Linked DNA regions of Homo sapiens: regions 2, 3 and 4 are each linked to region 1. Evidence: promoter capture Hi-C in 16 types of primary human blood cells and fetal thymus (Javierre and others, 2016). All regions are on one chromosome and are shown on one strand. The core of a region is centred on a gene start or on the middle of the fragment in contact, and the rest is flanking DNA. Distances in the headings are between cores, read along the strand shown. Region 1 holds the start of NBPF1 (NBPF member 1). Region 2 holds the start of CPLANE2 (ciliogenesis and planar polarity effector complex subunit 2). Region 3 holds the start of MFAP2 (microfibril associated protein 2). Region 4 holds the start of FBXO42 (F-box protein 42).

Region 1 (7,608 bases), core at 2,702-5,201:
CTGGGAGGCAGAGGTTGCAGTGAGCCAAAATCACGCCACTGCACTCCAGCCTGGGTGACAGAGCGAGACTCTGTCTAAAAAAAAAAAAAAAAAAGAAGTGGCAGCTCTGTCTGCTTCTCACAGAGTTGCTAGGGACAACTGCTGAGGCAGGCACCTGCCCTCGGGCTCCCCGGGTGGGCTGCTATTTGCCTGTGGGCTCTGCCTGCCCGCCTGTCCAGTCCCCAGGGATCTGAACTGTGACCTCCCCCTTGCTCTTCTTGCCCTTTGCATTGCCTGGCTTGGCCTCATTAATGTCCCCAAATCTGTGTTCTTCTCTCCAGCTCCTCTGGCAACCCCTGACCCCCTTCATTCCTCACAGCCAGTCCTAACTCTCCTCCATCCCAACCCCAATCCCTCTTCCACAGCTGTCGGAACATCCCCTAAGCTAAAAATCAGATTGCTCCTTGTCACCTTGGCTCGAGTCCTCTCTCCCACTCCCCTCACTGTCCTTAGAATCCCCATGGCCCACACGGCCTGTCCTGGCCCAGCCACTGCCTGGGGCTCTGGCCCTGTGACTCACCGTGCCCTGTTTCCCTCTGCACCCTGCATCCTGTAGTCCTTTCCAGGGGCTGTGCTCTTGGCCTGGGGTGGTCTTTTCTCTCCTTACCTGGCTGACAGTTACTTGTCTCTCCGCAGGGGATCATGTTCGGACCCCCAGGCCAGCCCACTGCTGCTCCTTGGCACTTTCACGGCCCTGGCGTGTCCCCGTCATAGCCCTTATCAGTCCCTTGTATTTACCTGGTCACCCTCCATCTCTGAGGGTATGGGGGCCAGATGGCTCTTGCTGCCCTGATGTTTTGGGGGGTCTGCCTGGGCCCCTCCTGGTGTGTCACACGCGTCCAGTCCTGGCCCCCTAGGAGGCAGCATGGCGGGAGCTGGAGGCCGAGCGGGCCCAGCTGCAGAGTCAGCTGCAGCGTGAGCAGGAGGAGCTGCTGGCCCGGCGGAAGGCTGAGAAGGAACAGCTGAGTGAGGAGATTGCTGCCCTGCAGCAGGAGCATGACGAGGGCCTCCTCCTGGCCGAGAGCGAGAAGCAGCAGGTTCGTGAGCCCTGGCGTGGCCTCTGCTGCTCTCTGAGCTGCTCCAGTTCTGGGGCCGGGCCCTGCTCTGCCACTTGGCAGCTAGGAGCCCTGGGGCAGGCCACTGCCCTCTTGGGGGCCTCAGTTTCCTTACCTGCAGGAGGGGAGGATTAGAAGGGGGTTCGTGAGGCTTTGCTGTGCTCCATGCCTGGCACACAGTGAGCACTTACTGAGTGACAGTGACAGTCGTGACACCAGGAAAGCTGTTCCATATTCTCCCATGCCTCGTCCCACCCCACGCTGGGCATGGATCCTCATGGCTGCCTTCTGAGCAGTCCCCACGATGCCCACAGGCATCAGCTGACGTGTCCCCCCAAATAACAAATCCCTAACTTTCCTATAATGTAACGGAGACAGGGCAGACTGTGCCCATCTCCTCTCCTCACCAGCTGTGTACCTGGGCGAGTCACTTTACCTCCTTGAGCCTCAGTTTCCTCATCTGTAAGATGGGTAGAAAGAAAGACTCTGCAGTCAGGGTGCTGTGGCGGGTTAGTGAGCTCTATGAGTGGTATCCACGTCCGGGATTCTTGTGACTGCCGTTGTGCCCTTTTCCAGGGCTGCATGTCTGCCCTGGGTCCACCTGCAGTGGCACACTCAGGCCTCTAAGCCCCCAGTGGGCACATTTCCTAGGCAGCAAGAAGCCTGAGCATGCCCCCAGGACCAGCCCATCCCCCAAGCCCTTTGTCCCCTGCCTCTGCCCAGGCCTTGTCTCTGAAGGAGTCTGAGAAGATGGCGCTGTCAGAGAAGTTGATGGGTACACGGCACAGCCTGGCCACCATCTCCCTGGAGATGGAGCGGCAGAAACCAGATGCCCAGAGCCGGCAGGAGCAGGACCGGGTAGGCCTGCCGTCGTAGGGAGGCTTGCGGAGCAGGAGCGCCCTCTCTCCACCGAGCTATCCCGCGGTTTCCAGCATCCCATCTGGCGGACTCCTCTTCCTCTCTCTTCTCCTACTCTGGGTCTTCTATCCTGGTGTTCCTTGAATGCCTATCTTCCTTTTGTGCCTCGGAACCTCTCACGCCTGCCACAAGTTACTCTTTTCCTTGGTAGTTCTGAACTTTAAATAAGGTAATGCCTGTAAGAATGCCATAAATGCTCAATAATTGTCATCTGTTATTATTTTCATCAGTAACATCATCTGAATCATCAGTATTGTCTGCTTTTAACAGCTGCATTTTTCATTGTCCAAATATAGTCACATACATTTGACCATTTTATAATTATTGAATAATAAATTTGTTCTGCTATTTTACAATGAAAAATAATGCTGCAGAGAGCATTTTTGCACATGTATCGTGGCAGATGTAGGCCAGAGGCTCTTCTTTTATCCATCCTATGGCCAACCTATGAATGTATACACGTTTAATGAGATTTTGCCAGCAATCAAAGCCTTCAGGGAAAATGTCCCTAGCTCTTTACTACATCAGATCAAGGACTCTGGATAATTGGCATAACATCCTGGAATAGCTGAAACAGAGATATTATTCTCTGCTCTCCTCTGTTGTCTTTGTCTTTTCACGTCTTAATAAAAGTGCTGGTGACAAGAGTGTAACTATGTCAGTGTTCTCCTGCTGTCCTTGCCTGTGTGGGTCTTCTCCCAAACCCGACTTTCCTCCAGCGGCTTCACTGAAAAAGAGGAGGGGGCTGTGGGGGGTGGGTCGGGGAGCAGAGGAGGAAATAAACTGGATAGGGAGGAAGCTTCTCACAGGCCCGGAGAGGGTAAGGAAGGGAGTCAAAGACAGAATTTTCTTCAGCAAACAGTAAAAGGGGAAATCTGGGGATGCTAAGAGTTTTTAAACCCTTTGCTCCATCACATAAGTAATCCATGATTTTCTGTTCCACAAATCAGGACTCCTACTCCTCCCTCCCTCCCCATCCCCAATCCTGATTCCTGTTTACAAAGAATGTTGAAAAACAAGGAATTATGTATAACAGTTCCCAGTTTGCTCAGGAAATTCTCAGATTATAAAGAGACATTACAAATGAACAAGTGAAGAGAAGAACCTTGGTGGTTCCAACATAGTATGGCCATTGTTTTATACTCAAAATATAGAAAGACAACCTCAGAATAAGAAAACTTTTGGAATGGAATAAATCAAGTTTATCATTAAAATGCAAAGAAAAAAACTCTCCAAATGTTGCTGATCTTCTATTTTAAACTACTGTTAGACCGGAGAAGCGGAGAGCAGGGGAATCCGCCAAAGAGTTTTGGATGAAAATTAATCAGCCCTGTCTACCGTAGTCACACCCCACTGCCCTTGAGACCCAATCCTTCGGAAGGAGTGTCCAAGAGGTATAAAGCAAAACGAAAAAACAGTTCGCAAATTCCAGAGTTCGTTTTCTCTCATTAAAAATATAAATATCAGGCTAACACATGTTGACACACAATAACAGGGACACAGAATCCCTCCTGGAAGACCGACGGGCCCACGGACCCCACGGGTGCCACGGTGGTGGACGAGGTTAAGTAACTTGGTTCAGGGTGTCTGGGCACACCTCTGCGTGAGACTCTGTCTCTGCTGCTCCTCTCATCTCTACGCCGATTCCTCCCCACAATCCTCCCTTTTCCTTGGGCCCCCGACGCCTCTCCGACCAACAGTCTCCCCAGCCCCGCAGCTTCTCTCTTTCAGACCTTTACTTCTTGATCCTCACTCCATAGTGAGATGTGGCCTTTCAGCAAATAAATTGTGCTCAGGGAGACTGAAAGAAAGGGGTAAACCAGGATTAGTGCTGCAGGGTCAGAGCTAATGACACAAGCTTCTCTCCTCAGGCCTATTCATTTGAGATGCATCTCAGGCACTTAGGCACAGCAGTGCTAAGTTAGTACCAATTATATACATGCACACATAAATATATAAAAGCATATAAATATTACATATGTAAATATAAATTGTACCAATAAAATCGACATCAAGCTTGTTTTTAATCATTCACTCAAAATACATTGAACAGCTACTGTGCAAAGTCTTGGGACTGCTTAGAAACTTAAGACAAAAATATTGGGCCTGTAGTCCCAGGTGAAGCCTAGGCAGGAGGATGGCTTGAATGAAGGAGTCCAAGTCCAGCCTGGGCAGCATAGTGAGACTCAGTCTTTTTTTTTTTTTTCTCTGAGATGGAGTCTCACTCTGTCGGCCAGGCTGGAGTGCAGTGGCACAATTTTGGCTCACTGCAACCTCCACCTCCCAGGTTCAAGCGATTCTCCTGCCTTAGCCTCCTGAGTAACTGGGATTACAGGCACGTGCCACCACACCTGGCTAATTTTGTATTTTTAGTAGAGATGGGGTTTCACCATGTTGGCCAGGCTGGTCTCGAACTCCTGACCTCAAGTGATCCACCCACCTTGGCCTCCCAAAGTGTTGGGATTACAGGCATGAGCCACCGTGCCCGGCCGAGACTCAGTCTTTAAAATAATGAAGTAAAATAAAAACATAAACCTCAAACAAAAAGACAAACTATGATTTCAATCATTGTGAAGCTCTTGATCTAGTAGATGATATATATATATATATATATACATATACCAAAAATACTATAATTTCAGAGAAGTGCTATAGAGTCTAATGTTTAACAACTTCTGGCATTTGACTGATGGTGTTTAAAGCTCTTCCCGCATTTTCCAGGGGTATAAATCGAGGCAAGTTATTTGGTATTTACTGCATTTTGGCTTCTTCATATGCAAGGGGGTTATGATAATAATACCTACCCCATGAGGACGGTATGAGGACTAAAGAAAATCGTGTATGTATAGCCTCGGCCAATGCCCATAGACACTGAGTACTCAACTAGGTGTTAGCTAGCAGATTTTAAATTTGCATTTATTCGTATAGTTTTTAAGGTAAAATTTACATTCATTGAAATGTTAACTGTATGTTTTTTGACAAATGAATACACTTATATAACTCATATCCCTATCAAGACAGAGACCATTTTTACCACCCAGAAATTTCTCTCATGTAACTTCCCAGTCAATCCCCTGCCAGAGGGAACCACTGCTATGATTTTTTCACCACAGATTAATTTTCCCCTTTCTAGAATTTCAAATAAATGGGAAGGTATGTGCTCTTTTGTGTCATTTATCTTCACAGACTTTGAAATAAAAAAGTTACAATTTTAAACCTTTTGGGCATTTAGTAAAAATCTCCTTCCCACCAGTAGCCACCAGTCACCAGTCTTCATTTCTCTCTCTCTCTCTCTCTCTCTTTGAGACAAGATCTTGCTCTGTCATCCAGGCTGGAATGCAGTGGCATGATCATGGCTCACTGCAGCCTCAACCTCCTGAGCTCAAGCAATCCTCCCACCTCAGCCTCCCAAATAGCTGGGAGTACAGGTGCCCGCCACCACGCCTGGCTAATTTTGCTTGTATTTTATGTAGAGACAGGGTCTCACCAAGTTGCCCAGGTTAGTCTCAAACTCCTGAGCTCAAATGATCTGCGGGCCTTGGCCTCCCAAAGTGCTTGGATTACAGGTATGAGCCACTGTGCCTGGCTCAGTCTTCCTCTCTTAAAGCAACCAATGTTATTAGTTTTATGTGGGCCACCCCATGGCTTATCATTATTAATTCAGGTGTTTATACAAGGCTCTTTGAGAACTCAGTTTTAAAGGTTACCCAAAGCATCCTAAGACAACTCAGCCTAAAACGATATAAAATCAGTTTTAATATAACTGAAGTTTCTACATTCTGACTCCAACTGTCAGATTGTGACATTTTCTCTTTCTCTGACTTTATGCCAAATTTACTTCAACTTCTAGCATCCATCATTCTCATTTATGAACAAATATGTATTTAACAAATGTGGAAATACAAATCATGAAGCAAACAAAACCAAACCCTGGGCTTACGTAGCCGATAGTAAAAAATTCACCAAAATAACCACCCGATTACAGTTTCATGCAATGTGATAGGAGTAAGGGACCACCATAGGGAGGTCAGAAGGTGCTTTTCAGAGGTGGAGACTACAGCTGTTCTCAGAAGAATAGGGGTTAGAAGAACTTTCCAGGCACAGAGCAAAGCATGAGCAAAAGCTCTGTGGAGGCCAGGAAGCTGGTAAATAGGGAATAAAAGAGGCCAGTTTGGCTGGAGCAGAGAGAGCAGAACAGAATTGGTCTGAGTAGTGAGAAGAGATGAAGAAGTGGGCAAGGCGCCTGGCCATTCGGGGCTTGGTTAGTTAGGAGGTTTTGTCTAAGAGAATGGGAAGGTGTTTAAGTGCTTTAGGCTGGGAAGTGACACGGTCACATTATATTTTGGAAAAGCCACTCTGCCTGTTGTGTTGAGATTAGAGAGGCGATAAAGGGGATATGGGTAAACCACAAGAAGACTAGGTCAGTAGTCCCTCGACCCTCACTCCCCAGGTGAAGGCAGCCTAGACTAGGGTGGTGACGGAGGAGATAGAAGAGGACAGATTCAAGGAAAATTTGGAAGGTAAAAACCAGTAGGATTTGCTGACGGATGGAGTATAGGAGGGGAGAGGTAGATTATCAGGGATGTATCTTAGTTTTCTTATACAAGATAGATTCAGTTGCAATGAAATTGTTAACTGAAATTGACTTTAAATAATGGCATGACCTAAAGTTATGCAAACATTTGCCTTAGATAAAATATCAAGTTTTCAAAGTTTTTAGCTGGGTGGACGGCATGGCTTTACTTCCTATTTCTTGGTATTCTAATCCTGTTGAAAAAAAAAGTTTTTCTTTTTCTCAAAGGCTTATTTCAGTGGAAGCCCATCTGCAAAATCTGTTAATAAATTTAAATTAGAAAATAACTACAAGTGCCATTGACACATTGGTTATTCTTTTTGAGAGTGACCTAAGGCCACCTCTGGGAGAGCTGGGGGCTCTTCTGAAGCCTGCCCGACTGCACCGCGTGCCCGTGCCTGGAAGTCAGATTCGGGGCGGTGCGGCAGCGCGAGGCCTGCAGTCCTAAGCGCGGGGTCGCTCCAGCCCCAGAGGGGGTGTGTCTCCTGCCTCTTCAACCTGGCAGGGGCTGTTCAAGTGGCCGGGGAAACCAGCGATTTGGAGGGTCGAGGGCTGGTGCTTTGAAAGACAGGCGGAGGGGAGAGAGGGATTTCCCCGTCCCCGCTGCACTCGGTCCTTCCCCTGGGTTACTCCTTTCCTCCGCCTGCGCGGCCCCTAACCTGCTCGAACCCGTTGTGCAGAAGAGGCCGCCGGGTCCCTTTAAGGCCCCGCCGCGCCTGCGCCTTGGGTTATCCTGACACGCCCATCGGGATCCTGAGGAGCCAGTGGGCTGCAGGCGCAGGCGCAGGCGAGGGGCTGGGTGGCGGTTGAGACAGCGGCGGTACTGGGAGGCGTAGGTGAGGGTCGCGAGGCTGCCCGAGCTTCTGAGCGAGCGCGGTGCTTTTGGGAACGCGGGACGGGCGATCTGCGGCGCCAGGAGCTGGGCCGAGGCGCGGCGGCGCGGCTGCCGGCTGCCCTGTGAATGGGAAGTTACGCGAAGTCCACCCAGCGTTTCTGAGGTGAGGGCGCCGCGCCAGGCTGGGC
Region 2 (7,608 bases), core at 3,427-5,926, 380 kb after region 1:
CTCTGTCTCAAAAAAAAAAAAAAAAAAAATCAGAGGGCTCTAGACTAGAAGAGTCCTTAGGGAGATGTTCTACATGTTTTGCTTGAGGCCCTGAAAGGAGAAGCAGCTGGCTTAGGGGGACACATAGTTTAGTGGTCAGAGGGGCACAGGAGAGCAGAACTCATAGACCAACACGGTCCACAAGCGTCCTTCTGAAACGCAGTTCTAACCATGTCACTTTCAGGTCCCAACAGTCAGCTGGCCTCCTTTGCCCAGCAGCAGTGTTTACATGAGGTCTGTGGACCCTGTTATGGACTGAATTATGCCCTGCTCCACCCAAATCCATACATTGAAGCCCTAGCCCCCAATGTGACCATATTTGGAAATAGGTCCTTTAAAGAGGTAATTAAGGCACGCTTTTCATCTGTCCCGCTGAGTGTTTGCCTCTTGATCAGGAACTCCTGCTTCTCCCTGCCTCTAAATGGACCCCAACTGCTCCTGCTCGCCTGATGGTTCCTGCGCCTGTGCCGGCTCCTGCAAATGAAAAGAGTGCACATGCACCTCCTGCAAGAAGAGCTGCTGCTCCTGCTGCCCTGTGGGCTGTGCCAAGTGTGCCCAGGGCTGCATCTGCAAAGGGACGTCGGACAACTGCAGCTGCTGTGCCTGATGCCAGGACAGCCCTGCTCTCAGATGTAAATAGAGCAACCTTATAAACCTGGATTTTTTTGGTACAACCCTGACCCATTTGCTACATCTTTTTTTCTATGAAATATGTGAATGGCAATAAATTCATCTAGACTAAAAAAAAAAAAAAAAAAAAAGGTAATGAAGGGTGAGCATGGTGACTGATGACTGTAATCCCAGCACTTTCAGAGGCCAAGGCAGGCAGATCACTTGAGGCCAGGAGTTTGAGACAAGCCTGGGCAACAAGGCAAAACCGTACCTCTAAAAAAATACAAAAGAAAAAGTCCGGGCATGGTGGCTAATGCCTGTAATCCCAGCACTTTGGGAGGCCAAGGCGGGCGGATCACCCGAGGTCAGGAGTTCAAGACCAGCCTGGCCAACATGGTAGAACCCCGTCTCTACTAAAAATACAAAAATTAGCTGGGTGTGGTGGCAGGCGCCTGTAATCCCAGCTACTTGGGAGGCTGAGGCAGGAGAATCACTTGAACCTGGGAGATGGAGGTTGCAGTGAGCAAAGATCGCGCCATTGCACTCCAGCCTGGGGCACAAGAGCGAGACTTTGTCTCAAACAAACAAACAAAAATACAAAAAAAAAAAAAATTAGCCAGGCGTGCTGATATGCACCTGTAGTCCTAGCTCCCCTCGGGGCTGAGGCAGGAGGATTGCTTGAGCCTGAGGAGGTCGTGGCTGCAGTGAGCTGAGATCACACCACTGCCCTCTAGCCTGGGTGACAGAGTGAGGCCCTGTCTCAAAAAATAAAAGAAAAAGGTAATCAAGGTTAAATGAGACCATAAGCATGGAGCCCTAATCCAGTAGGACTAATGTCCTATTTGTAACAGAGGAAGAGACACCAGACATGTATAAGCACAGAGAAGAGGCCATCTGTAAGCCAGGAAGAGAGGCCCCACCCAGAAACCAACTCTGCTGGCACCTTGATCTTGGACTTCCAGCCTCTAGAACTATGAGAAAATAAATTTCTGTTGTTTAGAGTACCCAGACTGTGGTATTTTTGTTACAGCAGCCTGGGCTGACTCATATAGACCCCAACTTCAGAACTGCCTAGTGCTTTTGTCAAATCTGCAGGCTCACAGACCTACCCAGCCCCTGACACAGAATGTCGGGGTTGGATGTGTGAACCCCAAATATCTGAGACAGGTCACAGTCAATTTAGAAAGTTTATTTTGCCAAGGTTAAGGATGTGCCCGTGACAGCCTCAGGAAATCCTGAGACATATACCCAAGGTGGTCAGGGGTACAGTTTGCATTTAAGTTTTAGGGAGACATGAGACCTCAATCAATATGTGTAAGATGTACATTGGTTTGGTCTGGTAAGACAGGACAGCTTGAAGCAGGGGCTTCCAGGTTAGAAATACATAAGAGACAAGGCCAGGTGCAGTGGCTCATGCCTATAATCCCAGCACTTTGGAAGGCTGAGGTGGGCGGATCATGAGGTCAGGAGATCCAGACCATCCTGGCCAACATGGTGAAACCCCGTCTCTACTAAAATACAACAACAACAAAAATTAGCCGGACATGGTGGGGCATGCCTATAGTCCCAGCTACCTGGGAGGCTGAGGCAGGGGAATCACTTGAACCTCAGAGGCAGAGGTTGCAGTGAGCCGAGATTGTGCCACTGCACTCCAGCCTGGGCGACAGAGTGAGACTCTGTCTCAAAAAAAAAAAAAGTAGATAGGAGACAAAAGATTGCATTCTTTTGAGTCCTTGATCAGCCTTCCACTGAATACATAATTTTATTTATTCAGCTCTGTCACCCAGGCTGGAGTGCAGTGATATGATTCTGCTCACTGCAACCTCCACCTCCCAGGTTCAAGCGATTCTTCTGCCTCAACCTCCAGAGTAGCTGGGATTACAGGCGCCTGCCATCACAGCCAGATAATTTTTGTATTTTTAGTAGAGACAGGGTTCACCATGTTGGCCAGGCTGGTCTTGAACTCCTGACCTCGGGTGATTTGCCCGCCTCAGCCTCCCAAAGTGCTGGGATTACAGGCGTGAGCCACCGCGCCCAGCCATTTTTTTGTATATTTTTAGGGATAAGGTTTTGCCATGTTACCCAGGCTGGTCTCAAACTCCTGACCTCAAGTGGTCCACCAGCTTCAGCCTCCCAAAGTGCTGGGATTACAGGCGTGAGCCACCGCACATGGCCCCAAGAGGACTTTACATCTTCTCTGGGTTGCAGATTAACAGGCACGTTCATTCTGCCAAGTTGCTTCATTTTCTCACACGCTCACTGAGCCCTCCACGAGCCAAAGATGGGTGGATGTGAAGTCTGGAAATCCAGAAATAATTCAGATCAGAGCCCTGCCACTGAGTGACTCCTGGCCCATGGAGAGAGCTCTGGACAGCTGTGAATCTCCCTGACTGGGCAGATGTGACAGCTGCAGGAATGGGAACCATGTGACCTGGGAGTATGGGCAAAGGATTCCACCTGCAGAATCCTGTAGGAATGGTTATTCATCTGGTTTTTCTGCCTAGCCACAGCGTGAGCAAGTTGAGAGAAAGCACCTTGTCTTACACATCCTCATCCCCTCTCTTAGACATAATGGGCCTTAAAAATCTGTGAGTTCGTAGTCCTCTGGCTGCTTTCTGCTTCCCTAGGAACAGCCCTCCTAGTGGCTAGGGGCAAAGTTTTAAAAACACAAAACCCAAACTGGCAGAACAGATAAGTACTTTAGAGTCAGGTAAGTGTGGGTTCTTTTTTTTTTTTTTTTTTTTTTTTTGACAGGGCCTAGCTCTGTCACTCAGGCTGAAGTGCAGTGGCATGATCTCGGCTCACTGCAACCTCCATTTCCCGGGCTCAAGCAATCCTCTCATCTCAGCCTCCAAGTAGCTGGGACTACAGGCGTGCACTACTGTGCCCGGCTAATTTTTGTATTTTTTTTTTTGTAGAGGCAGGGTCTTACTATGTTGCCCAGGTTGGTCTCAAACTCCTGAGCTTAAGCAATCTGCCCGCCTCAGCTTCCCAAAGTGCTGGGATTACAGGCGTGAGCCACCACACCCAGCCAGCTGTGGGTTCTGAGTCGGTTTCACACTGACTAGCTGTGCGGTGTGACCTCAGACAAGTCACGTTATGTTTCTGAGAGTCTTCGTCAGTACAAGAGGGTAATACTATTTACACAGGTTTGTTTATAGAATTAAATCAGGTGACCCCTGTAAAGTCCCCACTGTCTGGCACTTGGGTGGCCTTAGGTAAAGCTTAACTCCTAAATTATTCCTTTCAAAACAGTGATTTGCCCTACTTGAAGGCATTGCGGAAAGATAATGGTAAAAATTAAATGTAATAGACAAACTCTCAGTAATGACCCACCTGCACTCTTTCCAACCAGTGGGCATTTACTGAGCACCCACCTTCTGGGTAACAGGCCTGGTGTCCAGTGCTGGAACGGTGGAGAGGAGCTCAGAGTTTCAGAGCTGAAAAGTCAGCTCCAGGAGAGCAGGGACTTCTTGTTGGCCACTGTATTCCCAGCTAGGTGCTCAGTATTTGTTGAATGAATGAATGAATGAAAAATACAATCCAGCGGGCCTCTGACTCATTTTTTAAAACTTGAGCCAAGTCCCTTGACCTCTCTGAGCTGGTGTGTGTCCCCATCAGTGAAGCCAGAGATGTTTAAGTCATCTAGAGGTCCTGCCAAGCAGGATTAATAGAGCAATAATATTAATAATAGCAACAATCATAACTAAACATATGGAGCACTGCTATGGAGGGAATAACATGTTACGTCCACGTTATAGAAGAGGAAACTGAGACACAGAGAAGCATGAAAGGCTCCTGGAGGGGGGGTTTCATGATGTTTTGGAAGAAAGACTAGGGATCGGACGGAGTCATAGAGAAGAGGATCCACAACCCAGAGGAAAAGGCCTAGTCCAGAGCCACCGCGCGGCGCAGGCTGCGGACGTTGTAGGAGGGACGAACGCCTCCCGGAACCCGCCCAACCCAACCTCCGGCGTCTCCATGGCAACAACCTCCGCACATGCGCCGCGCGCACCTGCGCCGGAGCTGCCAGCACGCGCAGAAGGCGGACGCAGGCGGGGCGGAAGTGGGCCCGGCGGGCTGGGGCGGCGGGAGTGCGGGTGGGCGTTTAAAGGGGCCTTCGGCACCCAGGTCGGTTCGCCGCCGGGACTGCTGACGGGGAGGGCTAGGTAGCCCTGGGAGTCGGGATCTAGAAGGTAGAGGAGAAGCGGGGCTGTCTGACCCCCGGAGGTGACAAGGGGAGAGGGGCTGTGTGAATACCCTCCATGGGCAGTAATGGGATGACTATCCCCAGGGAGCATTGCGAAGGAGAGAGGCGGCTGAGGGACTGCACTTTCTGGGGCCCCCCGGGAGAGTCAGAGGGCAGTTAAGAGGGATCACAGGCCCGGCTTGGTACTGTCACTCCCCTTCCCACTCCCTGCTCTCAGCATTCTGTCACCTCCCTACCCCGTCGCGGTGCCCAGCCATGGCCAGACCTCCCGTGCCCGGTTCGGTGGTTGTCCCAAACTGGCACGAGAGTGCCGAGGGCAAGGAGTACCTGGCTTGCATTCTGCGCAAGAACCGCCGGCGGGTGTTTGGTAAGTGCCTCCCCCTTTCCTCTAGCCCGCCACTTGTCTTTCCCTGGGGAGAAGAGTGTCACCTGTTGCTCCCTGAGGAGAGCAGAGAGGCAGGGCAGTGAGGGCCTGCTCCACTGCAGTCTTCAGCAGTCTTCAGCCTGGGGGACTGAAAGCCCTAGCTCTGGGACCCCCACACCTAAATCTCCTTAGAGCTAATTCCATCGTCAGAGCCAGGAACATGGAAACAGCAGAAACCTTGCCAGCAACCACTGTCACCAGAGATGCAGTTGATTGAGCACTCCCCTGGTGCCAGGCCCTCTGTTGGGCACGTTACACAGTGCACGCCCATTTAACCTCTCAACAGCACATGGTACAGACTTGGCTAAGATCACACCCCAATAAATAGAGGTGAGCCTCTTCCATGTCCTGCTGTCTCTGGGATGAGACGCTGGTGTTCCCCATGGTGAAACTGACTCACCCAGGCAGGGCCCAGCTGTCAGGCCGGCAGAGGTGCCTGGAATCAGCTGTGGAGCCCAGCTCTGGCCAGGAGAAGCAAGGTGCCAGAAGACTTAAGACCAGAGAGTGAGATAGCTAGAACCAAAATTTGTGAATAAGTCAACTGTTTGTTTGTTTTTTTAAAAGAAATTATATTAAATTCAAAAAATGACCCTCTAGAAGGCTGGGCGCAGTGGCCTGTAATCCCAGCACTTTGGGAGGCCGAGGTGGGCAAATCACCTGAGGTCAGGAGTTCAAGACCAGCCTGGCCAACATGGCGAAACCCCATCTTTACTAAAAATACAAAAATTAGCCGGACGTGGTGGCGGGCACCTGTAATCCCAGCTACTTGGGAGGCTGAGGCAGGAGAATCGCTTGAACACAGAAGGCAGAGGTTGCAGCAACCCTAGATCGAGCCATTGCATTCCATCCTGGGTGACAAGAGTGAAACTCCGTCTCAAAAAAAAAAAAAAAAAAAAGACCCTCTAATATGGCCACTGTCCCTCTAATCCCATGATGGCTGGCAACACTGTATTTGGGGTCACACATACCCAGGCAAGTGACCCAGGCTCCACCACTGCTAGCTGTATGGCTGGGAATAAGTGAACTCTAGCCTCAAGTCCCACCTCTGTAAAATGGGGATAATCACAGTATTTACCCCATAGAGTTACTGGGGAAATTAATAAGGAGGGTGTTTGTAACATACCAAGCAGGTTCTGGCATGCAGTGGGTGTTCACTGAAGGTTGGCTGTTATTGTATTTATTTTGCATTTAGTTGTGTTGAGTGGAAGAGAATTGAGTGAAGGTTGAGCTGATTTTCTGGGAACATCATAGAATCCACTGACCATATTATCTATGCCACAGATAGGATTAAGCAGCCATAACTTAGAGGAATGGCAGTGATGGCTTTTAATTTTTGTGTTTTTACTTTAACTGCAGACATTTGGGTTTTTTTTTAACAGCTGGGTTTATGCACCTGAATGTATCATTCAGTGGTTGTCATGCAGGCCCCACAACAAACGCTGAGAGCAGCTAGTAAATAAATATCAACAGACTGACTATAATGCTTAGGCTAGTCTCTTTGTATCCCAGACTTCTGTAAAATTAGGTTGAGTATTAAGAGCCACAGATGAGGCCGGGCACGGTGGCTCACGCCTGTAATCCCAGCACTTTGGGAGGCTGAGGCAGGCAGATCACCTGAGGTTGGGAGTTCGAGACCAGCCTGACCAACATGGAGAAACCCCATCTCTAAAAATACAAAATTAGCCAGGCATGGTGGCGCATGCCTATAATCCCAGCTACTCGGGAGGCTGAGGCAGGAGAATCACTTGAACCCGGGAGGCGGAAGTTGCAGTGAGATCACACCATTGCACTCCAGCCTGGGCAACAAAAGCGAAACTCCGTCTCAAAAAAAAACAAAAAAGAACCACAGATGGTTGGTTAGCCCTGAAGAAGCCATTAGAAATGAGGTTGTCCTTGGCTGTATGTGGTGGCTCATGCCTTGTAGTCCCAGCACTTTCGGAGGCCAAGGTGGGAGGATTGCTTGAGCCCAGGAGCTCAAGACCAGCCTGAGCAACATAGTGAGACCCCATCCGTATTAAAAATAGAAGGTAAAGAAAAAAAGTAAAAATAAATAAGTGAGACTGTCCAGCCCAGGATCTGATGGGGCAAGTGCAGGATTTACCCGCGTCTTAGTCCATTTTATGCTGCTACAACAGAATACCACACTCTAAGTTATTTATTTATTTATTTTTTGAGACAAAGTCTCGCTCTGTCGCCCAGGCTGGAGTGCAGTGGTGTGATCTCGGCTTAGCAACTTCCACCTCCCAGGTTCAAGCAGTTCTCCTGCCTCAGCCTCCCAAGAAGCTGGGATTATAGGCACCCACCACCACACCCAGCTGATTTT
Region 3 (7,608 bases), core at 2,774-5,273, 360 kb before region 1:
ATCCCTCCTCTACCCTTAGCTGATTATTCATGAATCTGTTGGACAGGTGTGTGCCAGGCACCAGGACTAACTCAACAAACTGAATAAAACGGGACAAAAACATGGTCTAACCCTGCGAGCAGTTCACCATCCAGCGTGAAAGCCTGGCAGGGAAGGAGCACATCTCCAAAGACGTAGTGGGAGCACAGCAACCACAGCCCCATCCCCTCCCCTGCCCAAAGAAACAGCCAGGGGAATGGGTAGAAGCAGCAGAGAGGACATGGGAGCCAGGACACGAATTGTCAGCTTTAGCCCCTCAGTTTCCCAGTTTTTCTTTTCTTTTCTTTTTTTTTTTTCAGACAGGGTCTTGCTCTGTTGCCCAGGCTGGAGTGCAGTGGTGCAATCGTGGCTCACTGCAGCCTCTACCTCCCCAGGCTCAGGTGATCCTCCTACCTCAACCTCCTGAGTAGCTGGGACTATAGGCCAGCACCACCACACCCAGCTAATTTTTGTATTTTTTGTAGAGATGGGGTTTTGCCATGCTGTCCAGGCTGGTCTCAAACCCCTGGGCTCAAGCGGTCCACCCGCCTTGGTCTCCTAAACTGCTGAGATTACAGGTGTGAGCCACTGCACCCAACCTCCCTCCTTTTTTCAAGGGTAGGGGACAGCATTTCTGCTGGGTGAGTTCCTCTCTTTTGCCAGTGGGATTGCTCCTGGCAGCAGTGGGGTCTAAGGGCAGGCAGAGAGGGCTGGGCTGGCCTGGCCTGAGGGCCCACCTCTCTCCAGGTGACAAAAGTCTCTGCTGCCCTGCAATAGACACTGGGGGGCGGGGCATGGGAATGAAGGAGGCACAGGGCATATTTACTCCCTCCCTAAGACTCAGAGTCTAAGGGAGGTGGGGGAATGACTGGCGATGAAGAGATCAGATGGCAAGGGTCTAAATCAGGGGCCATCCTCATCTCCTCCCAGCCCGCAGCCCCTACAACTCTCACTCCCGCCTCAGGCCTAGGCTCCTGGGCAGGGCTGAAGGCTGCCCCTCACGCAGAGGATCTGCACCCCCAGCCAGCTTCTCCGGGAAGAGTTTAGTGTACAGTTCACTCATTCATTCCACCAATGTTTGCTGAACTGCTGCTCTGAGCCGGGCTCTGAACTTAATGAGCAAAACTGAAGATGAGCAAAAACAGCCTTGGTCCTGGCCTTCACGGGGCAAGATGACAGTCTCATCGGGAAGAGGGACAGGGCTCAGATGGTCACAGACATAGGCCAACAAGACAACTGCAAGCAGTAAAGCTAGAAAGCACAAAAAAAGGAAAAAGGGAAGGCCCCTCTGAGGAAGGGAGGGTTTGATCTGTGACCCCATGGAGGAGACCTCAGCCAGTGCTCGGGAGGAAGAAACGCCTCAGTGTGGGAGGGAGAGGGGTTTGGGAGAAAACCCCCAAAGGCCAGTGGCTGGAGGAGGAAGAGGAGGCAGAGCCAGGCTGCCATAAAGGGCCGGGGCCCTGGAAGCCACAGGGAAGTTGAGCCTCTAACCTGAGTGAAAGGCGATCAGTAGAAGGGGCACGATCTGCGGGGGTGAGGGAGGCAGGACCCACGTGGGAGAGCCCAGAGTGGAGGCTATCGCAGAGCCCAGGCAAATGATGGTGGTGTCAACTAAATAAGAAATCAGCCTTTTGACCAGGTGCAGTGGCTCACGCCTGTAATTCCAGCACTTTGGGAGGCCAAGGTGGGTGGATCAGCTGAGGTCAGGAGTACGAGACGAGCCTGGACAACATGGAGAAGCCTCGTCTCTACGAGAAATAAAAAAAAAAAAAAAAATAGCCAGGCATGGTGGTGGGTGCCTGTAGTCCCCACTACTCTGGAGGCTGAGGCATGAGAATCGCTTGAACCCAGGAGGCAGAGGTTGCAGTGAGTTGAGGATGCACCACTGCACTCCAGCCTGGGAGATAGCAAGACCCTGTCTCAAAAAAAAAGAAAAAGAAAAAATCCACCTTTTGGCCAGGCACAGTGGCTCATGCCTATAATCCCAGCACTTTGGGAACCCAAGGCAGGCGGATCAGCTAAGGTCAGGAGCCTGGCCAACATGGTGAAACCCTGTCTCTACTCAAAAAAAAAAAGCAAAAATTAGCCTGGCATGCTGGCATGTGCCTGTAATCCCAGCTACCCGAGAGGCTGGGTTGGGAGAACCTCTTGAACCCGGGAGGTGGAGGTTACAGGGAGCCGAGGTCACACCACTGCACTCCAGCCTGGGCAACAGAGTTAAACTCCATTTCAAAAAAAAAAAAAAAATCAGCCATTGAAAAAATTAAAGTTAGTTTTATTGAGTCTTACTGAGGACTGCACCCTGGGAGAGGGTTTCAGAGAGTTTCTGTTAGACTGCGCCAAAGCAGCATTTCAGCCCACAGTTTAGATACAGAGGCAGGCGGTTCTGTGTGTGCTCAGAAGCTATGGTCAGGCACGGTGGCTCACGTCCGTAATCCCAGCACTTTTGGAGGCTGAGGCGGGTGGATTGCTTGAGCTCAGGAGTTTGAGACCAGACTGGGCAAACACGGCAAAACCCCTTCTCTACAAAAAATACAAAAAAAAAAAAAAAAAAAAAAAATTAGCCAGGCATGGCGGCTCTTGCCTGTAGTCCCAGCTACTTGGGAGGCTGAGGTGGAAGGATCACTTGAGCCCAAGAGGTGAGCTGTGATGGTGCCACTGCACTCCAGCCTGGATGACAGAGCGAGACCCGGTCTCATTAAAAAAAGAAGAAGAAAAATTTACATCAAATGTCTTCAGAAGCTACACTAGTGCAAATCTCGCCAAGGTTTGGGTTCGAGGATGCACCTAGTTATATAGATTATAGAGGCATAATCGTCAATCCTGTCAGGTGCTATCTTATGTACAGGAAAAGGCACAGCCAGGATCATTTAACTTATATTTTCTAACAATGCAGTGATTCAGGCAAGAGGCGTGGGAGCCTGTGTTCTGCCCTGCCTGCCATCTTCAAGGCATCCTTCCGTTGGGCTGCCCCCAGTCACTGAGTCAGGGCTTTGTCAGCTTCTGACAAGCAGAAAGAGCAAATGCGGTTTCTTGGGATTGCAACTTGGTCTCACAGTGGCTTAGGCCAGGGTGGGAGCAGTGAACGGAGTCACAAAAGAAATTTTTCAGGTAGCATTCACGGGTGGGTGCTGGATTAGATGCAGGGCTAAGGGCAGGGGAGGAAGCCTGGGTAATGGAAGGCTGCGGGGCCAAGGGGGGACTGGGAATCCTGGAGGGCCAGGTCTGGGGGAGAGTTAGGAGGTCGTGAATTTGGACTTGGATGCTTGTTGAAGCTGATGCATCTTGAGGACATTTGTGGGACACATAGGCTGGGTCAGGGCTGAAAGAGGTGCTGGTTATGGCCGGGGGCAGGGACTCATGCCTGTAATCCCAACAGCCCAGGAGGATGAGACAGGAGGAATGCTTGAGGCCAAAATTTCGAGGCCGGAAGTTCCAGACGAGCCTGGGCAACACAGCAAGACCCTGTCTCTAGAAAAGGAAAGAAAGAACCGCTGGTTGTGGAAGCCAGCCATGGCCCAGAGCTCAGCAGTGTAGGAGAGGAGGGTGCGGGCCTGAGAGAGGCAGCAGGCTTGGCTGGAGAGGCAGAAGGAAAACCAAGGCAGGAGAGTGTCCTGGAAGCTGGGAGAAGGCAGAGGGAGATCGAGGCTTACTTTCTGGCTGAGGGGCCTAGGGTGAGTCACTTTGGGAGGCTTGATTTCCTCCTCTGTGAAATGGGCAACACACCTACCCTTGCCCACCTCACCCCCCTCACCCCGTCGACGTCGAGTGAGGAGCAGCTGTGAGGAGGAGGAAGCTTTGCACAGACGTGAGGACGGCCCCGGGCGCCTCTACCCCGGGGACACCCCCCCCCCCAGGAGATGGAACCCCGAGGGCACGGCGTGGCGGCCCATGCGGGCAGCTCGCGTTAGGACCCAGCGGCTCCGGGGCTGGAGGGCGGGCGCCAGCCCCGTCGGGGGCCCGGAGGGGGACTCGGAGCGGGCCAAGGGGCGGCTCCGGCGGGCGGACTCGGAGCGGGCGGCGGAGTGACCCGGACAGGTAGGCGCGGGCCTGGCGCTTGGGGGCCCCGGGGGGCGGTCAGGGGCGTCGGCGGGTCCCCCGGCGCGGGGGCGAGGGTGCCAGGCTCTCTGGGTCCTCGATCCTGGGGCAGCCGCGGAGGTTCCTGAACCCCGCGCCTTCAGAGCGGAGGCCAAGGGGGCACCTGGAAAGTTTGGGGTTGCTCTGCAGAGAGAACGCGAATTGGGAAGGGCGGGGAGCCCGAGTTTGGGGGGAGCCAGAGGTGAGGTCGTCGGGGGATGGGACATCTTTTGTTCTCCCGGGGAGGTTGGAATGTGGCGGGTGGGGTGGGGGGGGGGGGTCCGGTGGGAATGGCCGAGACAGAGACGCAGAGAGACAAAGAGAGATCAGAGACGGGAGCGCGAGGGCGCGCGGAGCAAGTTTCCGCGGCTGATTGTTCCCAGCTGTGCGGCGCTGCAACATCTGGGTTTCTCCCGCCGGGACCCCTCCCCCTGAGCCCGGCTCTGGAGCCGGCAGAGCCCTCCCTCCGTCTGATGTCTGAGCGAGCGTCGGGGCCCCCTGTCCCCCACCTCCCAGGACGCAGGGGAGTCGGGGGTGGGGGAGGCCGCAGCTGTGGAAGAGGCCAGAGGTGGGGGTGGGGCAGCCTCCCAGGCAGGTCCTGGCCTCCCGCACGCCCCAAAACCCCTTCGTCTAGAAGAGCTCGGAGATGTGGTCCCGTGGGAGGAGTTCATGAACTCCACACTGACTTCTCTCTTTCCTGCCTCCCCGCTAGCCCGTGGGCCTCCTTCCCCCAATAAGCCTGGGTTCGGGGGCCAGTCCTAGGGGAGGAAGACTCCCCGCAGGGTACCGACAGGCATCCCCCAACACCTTGCAACCCCTCTTGCCCCAATTCAGCGCCTTCTGCTGAGCAGCGGGGGCTCCGACCGACCTGACGGATGGGGAGAAGGGCAAGGAAGGCTCTCTGGGTCTTTTCATCCCCCTCCCATGAGGAGGTCAAGGGTTTTCAGAATGGGGTGTGGGGAGCCAGCTATCCCTCGCCTCTGGGGCAGCTTGGTCCTGAGCTTCGTCTCCCGGCTCCCACTCCACCTTAGTGAGGTGCCTAATGCATGAGAGGAGCCAGGGGGTCAGGAGGCCTCAGGATTGAGAGGAAGGAGGGAAAGACCTCCTGCTTTCTCCCCTTTCCCTCCCCTCTCCCTGGACTCCCAGTGGGGAAAATAGACCAAAGTTGGGGTTTCCAGCTAGCTCTCTGAAAGGACTTCCTGGGTTGCAGCCGGGAGGGGCCCTCCTGGATGGACCCCGCCCTCGCAGCCCTCCCTACAGAAGGCTGACGGACCTGAGGTGGCCCTCCACTGAGCTGGGGCTGGATGTGGGGAACCGGAGGCTCCCCCAAGTCCCACCGTGTAGCCAGGACTGGAGGCTGGGCTCTTGAATGTCAGGAGCCTGATGAAAGCCACGGACCCCATGCCCTCTCCCTCCAAATGACACACACACTTGCCTACAGTGTCAGGGGGTGCAGAACCCCCAGCCTGGGTGATGTCACGGCCCCTTCAGTGCTGCCTTTCTGGGATCCAGAGGAGCCCCCTCAGGCTTCACTCTCGTGCTTCCTGCTGCTGCAAATAGCCCGGGTCTCGTGAGCCTGTGATGCACACAGCCAGGTCTTGCGAGGCCTGGAGGCCTGGCAGGAGAGGAGTCTTCTGGGAGCTGGGAGCCCTGCCCGGCCTGGCCGCTCTGGGGGCCGGGCAGGCCCATGTGTATGTGGTTTCCTGCTGAGCAGGATGCTTAGGGCCCAGGGGCTAATTGGGAGCAGGTGGTGGCTTGGCAGAAGCTGCTGAGTCCAGGCGGTGATGCCGGCTGGCCAGGGCTGGGGTCCCAAGGATGGGCCTGGGTTCAGTGATTCACGCAGTCAGTGCCTTGGACACCCAGGGAGCCACTGGGCCAGAGGGCTGAGCACGGGTGTGGGTGAGGACAGAATGGCCTGGGCTGGGAGCACATTAGGAATGTCCCCTTAGTGAGCAGGGCAGGGTCCGCCCTTCCCTGACCACATCAAGTACACCCACTACACGGGGTTTGCTTGTCAGGATCAGCCCTGGAGCTGGGTTGGAGGCCTTGTCCCTTGTGACCTGAACACCTGGGTGGGCCAGCAGGGACTGGGATGTCCCTCCACTCCAGCCCTCCCATGCCTGGCTTCTATTCTGGGTGCCACCTTCTCCAGGGCGAAATCAGGGGATCAAAGGTGAGCTCTGCTGTCCTGGGTGTGGCCCTGGGTAGAGCTCTCCCACCGGTCTTTCCCCAGCTGTCCTCTCTGACACCACCCCGGCCTGCCTCTTTGTTGCCATGAGAGCTGCCTACCTCTTCCTGCTATTCCTGCCTGGTAAGTGGCTCCTGGGGCAGGGGGTAGCTCCTCTTATGTGGGGCTGAGGAGTAGGGTTAGTAGGGGGAATTCATAGTGAGCCTTTGTCACGACTTATGACCAGAACTCAGCTCCCCAGCTCCCAGGGCCTTCTGCCTGCTTGGACCACAGACTGGACCAGCCAACCCTGGCAGCATCTGGAGGCAGCTCCTGGCCCTTCCCCCAGCCTTCCACAGCAGCAGGCAGGCAGGGTTCTGGAGGGCACGTCCCAGGCACAAGGACTCCGTGGGCACAAGGCACAAGGCCTCTCTGGGAGCCGATGTGCAGGTGCAGGGGCACCCAAGGCAGGGAGTCCGGATGCTTGAGTTCTAGATCCATTCAGGGCCCTTCTGCTCTATACAGTCCTGACCTTGTGGGGGTCCCTACTGGCCAAATGAAGAGAATCAATGAGGACCACAAAAGTCCTAGCAGGGCCAACATTCATTCATTCAGCAGCGATGTGTTGAGTCCCTACCACGTGCCAAGTGCTGGGCTAGGCCCTGGGGATTCAGCGATGAACCAGGCAGACACATCGTTGCTCCTCATCATGCTGCCAGTCCAGGGAAGGGAGACAAATAGGAAACAAGCAGACATGAGAAACTCCAGCATGTGCTGAGTGCTGGACAGAAATCAGCAGGAGGGCTGGTGGGCTGGAGGTGGGGCGGCATCTTGGCACAGCTGAAATTCCAGGGAAGACCTGAAGGAGCTGAGCAGGCCTCACAGGCCCAGGGAGTGTCAGGTGCAAAGGCTCTGAGGGAGGCAGGAGCATGTGGAGTCCTAGGAGCAGCCAGGAGGCCAGCAACAGGAAGGGGCAGGGTAAGGTCAGGGAGGTGACCCATGACCAGGGTGGGGAAGGGTCTTTACCATCGAAGAAGAGTCTGGATCCTCTAGGAATCTGCTTGTGGGGTCCTAGGCTCTTATGGGCCTGACCTTGTGACCCCCGCCTCCACTCTCCAGAAGCGCCTCGGGCCCCCGTTGCCCCTCCCGATGGGGTACCCTACATGCTTTGCCTCCCCACAGCAGGCTTGCTGGCTCAGGGCCAGTATGACCTGGACCCGCTGCCGCCGTTCCCTGACCACGTCCAGTACACCCACTATAGCGACCAGATCGGTAAGGGCCTTGCCGGGTCACCGAGGCCTGGCTGCTCAGATGTGCCTGGCTCAGCCAGGGACCGCACTGGACAC
Region 4 (7,608 bases), core at 1,760-4,259, 260 kb after region 1:
CCCGAGTAGCTGGGATTACAGGCATGTGCCACCACGCCTGGTTAATTTTGTATTTTTTTTTTTAGTAGTGATAGGGTTTCTCAATGTTGGTCAGGCTGGTCTCGAACTCCCGACCTCAGGTGATCCGCCTGCCTCGTCCTCCCAAAGTGCTGGGATTATAGGCGTGAGCCGCCGCGCCTGGCCAAAACATGATTTTCTTAAATCAATGTTTCTCCCACTGGGATTCCCTGAGTGTATCCCTAGGGGACTTTGCATTATTCAGGTTTGAAGAACGTAAGAATATACTGCTTTCTATTTATTTATTTGAGATGGGTTCCCTCTATCACCCAGGCTGGCGTGCAGTGAGGTGATGATAGCTCACTGCAACCTCCAACTCCTGAGCTCAAGCAACCCTCTGCCTCTGTCTCCCAAGTAGCTAGAACTACAGGTACACATGCCACCATGTCCAGCTAATTTTTCAACTTTTTGTAGGGATGGGGTCTTGCTATGGTGCCCAGGATGGTTTTGCATTCCTGAGCTCAAGCGATCCTCCCCTCTTGGCTTCCCAAAGTGCTGGGCTGACAAGTATGCACCACCGCCTCTGGCTCATACAGCTCTCTATGGGTAAGGGTGACCCAAGTCTGCTCAAAGAGGCCTTGCCCTCCAACTTGAGGGGAACTTGGCTTCTGGCCCAGCCCTATGCCCCATGAGATTTCCTAGGAGGAAACTTTGTAAAATATTTGAAGAGATTTATTCTAAGCCAAATATGAGTGACCATGGCCCATGACACAGCCCTTGGGAGATCCTGAGAACATGTGCCCAAGGTGGTTGGGAAGCAGCTTGGTTTTATACATTTTAGAGAGACATGAGACATCAATCAAATACATTTAAGATATATTAATACAGGGCCAGGTGCAGGGGCGTATGCCTGTAATCCCAGCACTTTGGGAGGCCGAGGCGGGTGGATCAACTGAGGCAAGAGTTCGAGACCAGCCTGGCCAACATGGTGAAACCCCGTCTTTACTAAAAATACAAAAATTAGCTGGGTGTGGTGGCACATGTCTGTAATCCCAGCTACTCAGGAGGTTGAGGCACGAGAATCGTTTGGACCTGGGAGGCAGAGGTTGCAGTGAGTGGAGATCACACCACTGCACTCCAGCCTGGGCGAAGAGTGAGACCCTGTCTCAATAAATACATAAAAAGGCCAGGCGCCGTGGCTCACACCTGTAATCCCAGAACTTTGGAAGGCCGAGGTGAGTGGATCACGAGTTCAGGAGTTTGAGACCAGCCTGTCCAAGATGGTGAAACCCCGTATTTTCTACTGAATTTTGTATTTTCTACTGAAAATACAAAAATTAGCTGGGCACGGTGGCGGGCGCCTGTAATCCCAGCTACTCGGGAGGCTGAGGCAGGAGAATCGGTTGAACCCAGGAGGCGGAAGTTGCAGTGAGCGGAGATGGTGCCACTGCACTCTAGTCTGGGCGACAGAGCAAGACTCAGTCTCAAAAAAATAAACAAATAAATAAAAATAAGTAAATAAATAAATAAAAACTACATTGGTTCGGTGCAGAAAGACCGGAAACTTGAAGTGGGGGCTTCCACATTATAGGCAGATTTAAACATTTTCTGATTGGCAATGAGTTGAAATAGTTATTATCAATAGGCCTGGTGCGGTGGCACACGCCTGTAATCCAAGCATTTTGGGAGGCCGAGGCAAGTGGATTACTTGAGCTCAGGAGTTTGAGATGAGAGTGGACAACATGGCGAAACCCTGTGTCTACAAAAAAAATGGAAAAATTAGCCAGGCATGGTGGTGCCCGCCTGTAGTCCCAGTTACTCAGGAGGCTAAGGTAGGAGGATAGCTTGAGCCTGAAAGACAGAGGTTGCAGCGAACCAAGAACTCATCACTGGACTCCAGCCTGGGCAACAGAGTTAGACCCTGTCTCAAAAAAAAAAAAGTTATTATCAATAGAAATGAATGTCTGGGTTATGATAAGGGATTGTGGACACCAAAGTTTTATCACGCACGTGAAGCCTCCAAGTGGCAGGTGGGCTCCAGAGAGAACAGATTGTAAATGTTTCTTACCAGTCTTAAGGTCTGTTGTGTTGATGTCAATGCTGAAGGATGTAATGAGGCATGTCTCATGTCCTGCTTCCCGTCATGGCCTGAACCAGTCTCTCAGGTTGGTTACATTTTAGACTGCCCTGGCCTAGGAGGAAGTCCGTTCAGATGGTTTGGTGTTGGGGGGGGGGTGGGGGCTTAGTTTTTTGTTTTGTTTTGTTTTGTTTTTTTGGCTTACAGAGTTTAGACTGAAGCCTTTGACTCTGTATCTGGCATTTCCTTAGACCACATGCTGTAGGGCTGGGCTCATGAAGGTTCTCACCTACACACCAGGTTGCTCCCTTGAGAAGGGGGACTTTGCTGGATCCTATAACCTAGCTAGTAGGAAGTAAAGGAGCTTGGGAACCAGACAAGCCTGAGTTTAAATCCTCTTTCCCGCGCCGCCCCACCTCCACTGATAGGTGTGTGACTCCGGGCAAATAAGTGATCGTTTTCTGTGCCTCAGTTTCCTCATCTGAAAAGTGGAGCTAGTAAGAACTCACAGTGGTTGCTACGAGGCTACGGTTAAGGGAAGACTTCTCCTGCACACCTCAAGCACAGTTTCCCTCCCCTTGGCGATATCCAAGAGCACTCACATCCGCCACAGCCCTCTCTGCTCATCGGGCCCTCGGGGTAGAAGTGAGTTAATTCCTGGCTAAATGTTAGTCTCAAACCACCGGGAAAACCACCCAGTTGCCCCAGACAGTGCAGCGGAGGGTGGGTGCGGCTATCAGGTCGACGCTAGAGACGCGGCGAAGGCGGGTGCGGAGGCCTAGCTCCCCCGAGCGCATTCCACCCTCCACAGAACCTCGGCCTGTGACCACGGCCTTTCTCAACACTGCGCCGCCCCCTGGCCGCCCCTCGCCATCCCGCCGCGCTGACGTGAGTGCGCGCGCGTCCGCCGCGCCCGCCCCGGCGCATGCGCGCTCTGCGCTGTCTTCTCCCGGCCTGAGCAGCAGCAGCTGCGGCGGCGGCGGCGTTTGAGTGGAGGAAGATGGCGGCTCCGGGCGGCTCGGGGTCCCGCCAGCTGTGAGGAGCCCCGAGCACGGCTGTCGCGGCCTGAGGCAGAGCGCCTCTGCTCTGGCCCTGTCCCTGGCTCCCTCATTACCGTCGCCAGCGGAGCGAACCCGAGAGCGTGGAGCGGGCTGGGCCAGGTGAGGCCTCTCCTCCTCCCCGGGCCGCAGAGGGGAGCCGGCGCCTTCTGCCCTTTATGCCCGGGACTGGCAAGGGGCAGCGGGCGCCCGGGGTCTGACGCAGGCCCCGTATCCCACGCGGGGGTCGGTCCTGGTTGGGCAGGGTGACTTGCTATCGCCGTCCTCGAGTGAGGCGAGGAGGAGGACAGCTCCTTTCCAGCCAGCCCTTGGGTTGGGAGCGAACCCACCCCCTCTCCTCAGCAGGGTGGTTCTCGTCCCCTCACCCGGGCAGTGAAGGGGTGTGTGGCCCGGGCAAGGATGGCTTTAGGGTGTCAGGTAATCTTTCATCGCTCCTCCGAACATTTCACTCCTTTGCGAGAGAGGAGTCGGGGGTCGGGTGCCCATCAAAATTGGGGCTGCGGCTGGGGGCTAGCATCTCTGAACCTGCAGCTGCAAAGGGATAATTTTGGAATTGGTTTACGTTAAATAAAACACAAAAGGCCTTTCCTATCCCCTAGCTTGTTGAGTGTTCCCTTAGAGAAATGGGAACTGCGGATCTCCTTGCTTGAGACAGCAATCCATGCTGTGACTGTGGAAGGCTTCTCTTGGCGAGAATTGTGTGTGCAAAGGGAACGGTGGAGGGTGGGAACGAATTTGTAAGCGAAGAGAAAACGATTGTGAGATCTTGATGGTCGCTGCAGAGTAACTTCAGCGCTGAGTTCGTTTGAAACCTTCGGTTTGTTAAGATTCAGAATAACCAATTGCTTTGTCTGTTAAATCTCCCGATTTCTGTTAGGAAAATAAAAGCCTCATTTCTTAATTGCCAGAGTCTGGATTTTTCTGTGGTGGGATTCTGATCGATCTAGATGAAGATTCTGACACATTACCAGTTTTACTTGCTGGCAGTTGCTGGCCCCGACGTTGAAACTATGTTGTTCCTTTTTGAGAACAACTTTTATTGCTGTTTAAATGCTAATTGGGAGACTTCGATTGTGTTTCTGTCATGTAGGGAAGTCGGTTTGAAGCCTTGTGGTCTCTTTCTTGAGGAATGATGGCTTCACTGAACTTGTGCTATGCAGAATTGTTGAGGCGATTGCTTTTGCTTGGACACACCAAAATATCTTTTGTAACAAATTGGCTTTACTTCTGCTTAAGAATGATGACATCATGGATTTAAAGAGGCAAGGAAAATTTGGGGGAAGTACCATCATTTAGAATTGAATATTTAGAATTAAGTCTGTATATCTTATGGCCATTAGTGATGCTGTGTTAAATTGCTAACTTTGAGTGTATTCACGTGTGTAATCTGATTGGGTGTCTTTTCTATTGTATGTTGTCATTTTATACCCAGTAACTGTTTGCTTTTGACAAGCCAGTATAAATAGATGATTCAATCTACATTGATCCATAGGCATGTTGCGTATCTTAAAAAGCTTTTCATTGTTAAAATGACAACTGTTTAGGTTATTATTTGACCATTTTCTTTCTTTCTTTCTTTCTTTCTTTCTTTCTTTCTTTTTTTTTTTTTTTTTGCAGTTTCTCACTCTGTCATCCAGGCTGGAGTGCAGTAGCACAGTCTCGGCTCTCTGCAATCTCCATCCCCTGGGTTTAAGCGATTCTCCTGCCTCAGCTTCCTGAGTAGCTGGGATTACAGGTGTGCGCCACCACGCCCGCTAATTTTTTTTTTTTTTTTTTTTTTTTTGTAATTTTAGTAGAGACGGGGTTTCACCGATGTTGCCCAGGCTGATCTCAAACTCCTGGTCTCAAGCGATACCCTGCCCCACCCCAGGCTTGAGCCACCGTGCCCAGCCTCCTTTTCTATTTTTAAATCAAAGACTTTTCCATAGAAATTTGTCGATTTTCTTAGTGTCTTTGCTAAAGATGTAAATCTGAACCAGCAGCTTCTCTGTGGTAGAAAATTGGAGAGCTACTTTGCATATCAATTTGCTAATAAAGAGTCATGAAATTAATGCAGTAAAACATCCTGGTGGCTCATCATTATGCTTCTTGGCATAATATGTTGCACTGTTATGCTAAATCATCATCAGGTATTGATGCAACTTCATGACATCCATGACATCATTTGCTCTCCAGATTTTGACCTTTGCAATTCCTTACCTTAGTTACAAAAAGAACAGGATCAGAAAAAAAATAGCTTAGGATGCTTCTTCTTGTCTGATTTCTAGAGGGGTCTTTAATAACAGCTTTATGTGGTTTAAACCCTGAGTAAGATTCAGAGCAGGGTGAGTCCTACCTATTATGGAGAGCAAGCAAAGAAAATGCTAACAAAACGTCTGAGTTTTATGAGAACACTGAGGTCCCAGGGAGAAGCTATCTCAAAGATGAACAAATACGTAATTATCTTTGTGATTTCAGAATTGTTTTAGTCAATGAATTAACTCTTTTTGTTTGTTTTTTGAGACATAGTTTTGCTCTTGTTTCCCAGGCTGGAGTGCAATGATCTCGGCTCACTGCAACCTCCACCTCTCCGGTTCAGGCGATTCTCCTGCCTCAGCTTCCTGAGTAACTGGGATTGCAGGTGCCTGCCATCATGCCCAGCTAATTTTTTGTATTTTTAGTAGAGACAAGGTTTCACTATGTTGGCCAGGCTGGTCTTGAACTCCTGACCGCAGGCGATCCACCTGCCTTGGCCTCCCAAAGTGCTGGGATTACAGGCTTGAGCCACTGCGCCCGGCCCTGAATTAACTCTTTATAAAACCAGAAGCCATTTGATTAAATAAAGCCCTTCCCACGATTGTTAATGTGGATCAGAAAAGATAGTGTTCGTGAAAGTGCTTTGTAAAATGTAAAATAAAAGGTAAATGTAAAATTGATTATTCCTATTTATGAACCACCTACTGAGGGCCCTCCATATGGCGGGTGTTTTGGGAAGTAGGTACTAATTTAAGACAGCTTTTGGTCTGAAGTTGCATATAGTATGGCTGGGGAGCCAGACAAGGAAACCCGTTAAGTGCTATGTAGTGTTAAGAAGTGCACTGAATCCAACCAAGAGAGTCAAGGAAGGCTTCTTGGAGCAGGGATGGCTTTTCCCCAACCTTTCCTATTATTCTGCAGAGTCTGCCTTTAGTGAGTGACTTGCTTTTTATAAAAACTTGAAAAAAAATTCTGTCATGGGTTCTTTTCCCCTTTTATTCATTCACTGTCATGACAGTTCCCACACAGTATGCCCCAGTTATGGCTTCTGCATTCTCAAAAATCCAGCAGTCTTGGGAAAACCTTTCTATATGAGTCATATACACAGGCAACAAACACAAACATTGCAGCTGCAATTAAAATATCTCAGATTACTAAGTGGTGACAACTTTAGAGTGATGATGCTTTTTTGTTTTTGTTTTGTAAACTAGTACAAGAGGCACTGTGTTTTTAATTTGATGACAATTAATACAGTAAATATTTAATTGTTATTCCTTACAATGTTGATTATAGGTGGTTATTAGTACTGTCTCCTTTTTCCCAACAATAAATAAAATGAGAAGATCTTAATTCCTTTTTGATTGAAGCTGACCGCTTAAGTGAGAATTACACTAAACTTTCTTTTTCTTTTTTATTTTTTTGAGACCAAGTCTTGCTCTATCGCCTAGGCTGGAGTGCAGTGGCGCAATCTCTGCTCACTGTAACCTCTACCTCCCGGGTTCCAGCGATTCTCCTGCCTCAGCCTCCCGAGTAGCTGGGAGTACAGGCACCCGCCCCACGCCCGGCTAATTTTTGTAGTTTTTTTTTAGTAGAGGTGGGATTTCACCATATTGGCCAGGCTGGTCTCGAACTCCTGACCATGTGATCCGCCCACCTTTGCCTCCCAAAGTGCTGGGATTACAGGCTTCAGCCACCGCTCCCGACGAATTACACTAAACTTTTATAGAATCTATGTGGATTGGTGTTGCTAGTAGCTTTGATATTGAACTTCTGTATCCCAGTACAAGTTATTTACCTTAGTGCTGTAGTTGTTGTACAATTAATTTAGCGTGTTGTTGCCTATATTGCAAAAACTTCGAATTTTTGGATTGAGTGAAATTTTTATGTGGCACTGTATTATTGAACATATACCATCTGTATCTTAACTGAAAATGAGTGATCTAAAGTTGCGGCTGATGGAAAAGTGAAGGTGATGTGTTCAGTTTTCTATAATGTGACAGCTTGCTACATGTACAAGGATATGACTTACAGACAAGTCATTTAAAAATTGTCCAGCATTAAGCTTATAATATAGCTTATGACTTATAGGCAAGTCTTTCTTTTCTTTTTTTCTTTTTTTTTTTTTTTTTGAGACGGAGTCTCGGGTCTGTCGCCAGGCTAGATAGAGTGCAGTGGCGCGATCTCGGCTCACTGCAAGCTCCACCTCCCAGGTTCACGCCATTCTCCTGCCTCAGCCTCCCG

The links. Contacts are between HindIII fragments. The CHiCAGO score rates a contact against its expected background, and 5 or more counts as called.
Region 2: a contact is called between the fragment with the promoter of CPLANE2 here and a fragment that was not itself captured in region 1, in 3 of 17 cell types (total B cells, erythroblasts and naive B cells). The highest score is 9.0, in total B cells.
Region 3: a contact is called between the fragment with the promoter of MFAP2 here and a fragment that was not itself captured in region 1, in 2 of 17 cell types (naive CD8 T cells and activated CD4 T cells). The highest score is 5.4, in naive CD8 T cells.
Region 4: the fragment with the promoter of FBXO42 here is called in contact with a fragment that was not itself captured in region 1 in 3 of 17 cell types (total B cells, erythroblasts and naive B cells); the score reaches 7.4 in total B cells.

What each region holds. Positions count from the first base shown.
Region 1 is chr1:16,613,313-16,620,920 of GRCh38, reverse strand. NBPF1 (NBPF member 1) reads left to right here and starts at 7,357. Exons shown (of 18, transcript NM_001405701.2): 1 at 7,357-7,583. It also overlaps the pseudogene CROCCP2. RefSeq lists enhancers at 363-1,031, 1,032-1,699, 1,700-2,368, 6,556-7,513. The HindIII fragment of the contact is 158 bases long and covers 3,873-4,030 here.
Region 2 is chr1:16,234,251-16,241,858 of GRCh38, reverse strand. CPLANE2 (ciliogenesis and planar polarity effector complex subunit 2) reads left to right here and starts at 4,676. Exons shown (of 5, transcript NM_030907.4): 1 at 4,676-5,228. The coding sequence starts at 5,117. It also overlaps the pseudogene MT1XP1. RefSeq lists a silencer at 4,619-4,798 and an enhancer at 4,639-5,183. The HindIII fragment of the contact is 3,895 bases long and covers 3,878-7,608 here.
Region 3 is chr1:16,977,035-16,984,642 of GRCh38, reverse strand. MFAP2 (microfibril associated protein 2) reads left to right here and starts at 4,023. Exons shown (of 9, transcript NM_002403.4): 1 at 4,023-4,056; 2 at 6,329-6,406; 3 at 7,445-7,534. The coding sequence starts at 6,370. It overlaps LOC105376806 (a long non-coding RNA gene), which reads right to left. Exons shown (of 2, transcript XR_947003.3): 2 at 6,848-6,974. RefSeq lists enhancers at 4,742-5,247, 5,248-5,755, 5,756-6,261. The HindIII fragment of the contact is 10,178 bases long and covers 3,817-7,608 here.
Region 4 is chr1:16,347,881-16,355,488 of GRCh38, reverse strand. FBXO42 (F-box protein 42) reads left to right here and starts at 3,009. Exons shown (of 10, transcript NM_018994.3): 1 at 3,009-3,234. RefSeq lists an enhancer at 2,970-3,744. The HindIII fragment of the contact is 4,914 bases long and covers 1-4,648 here.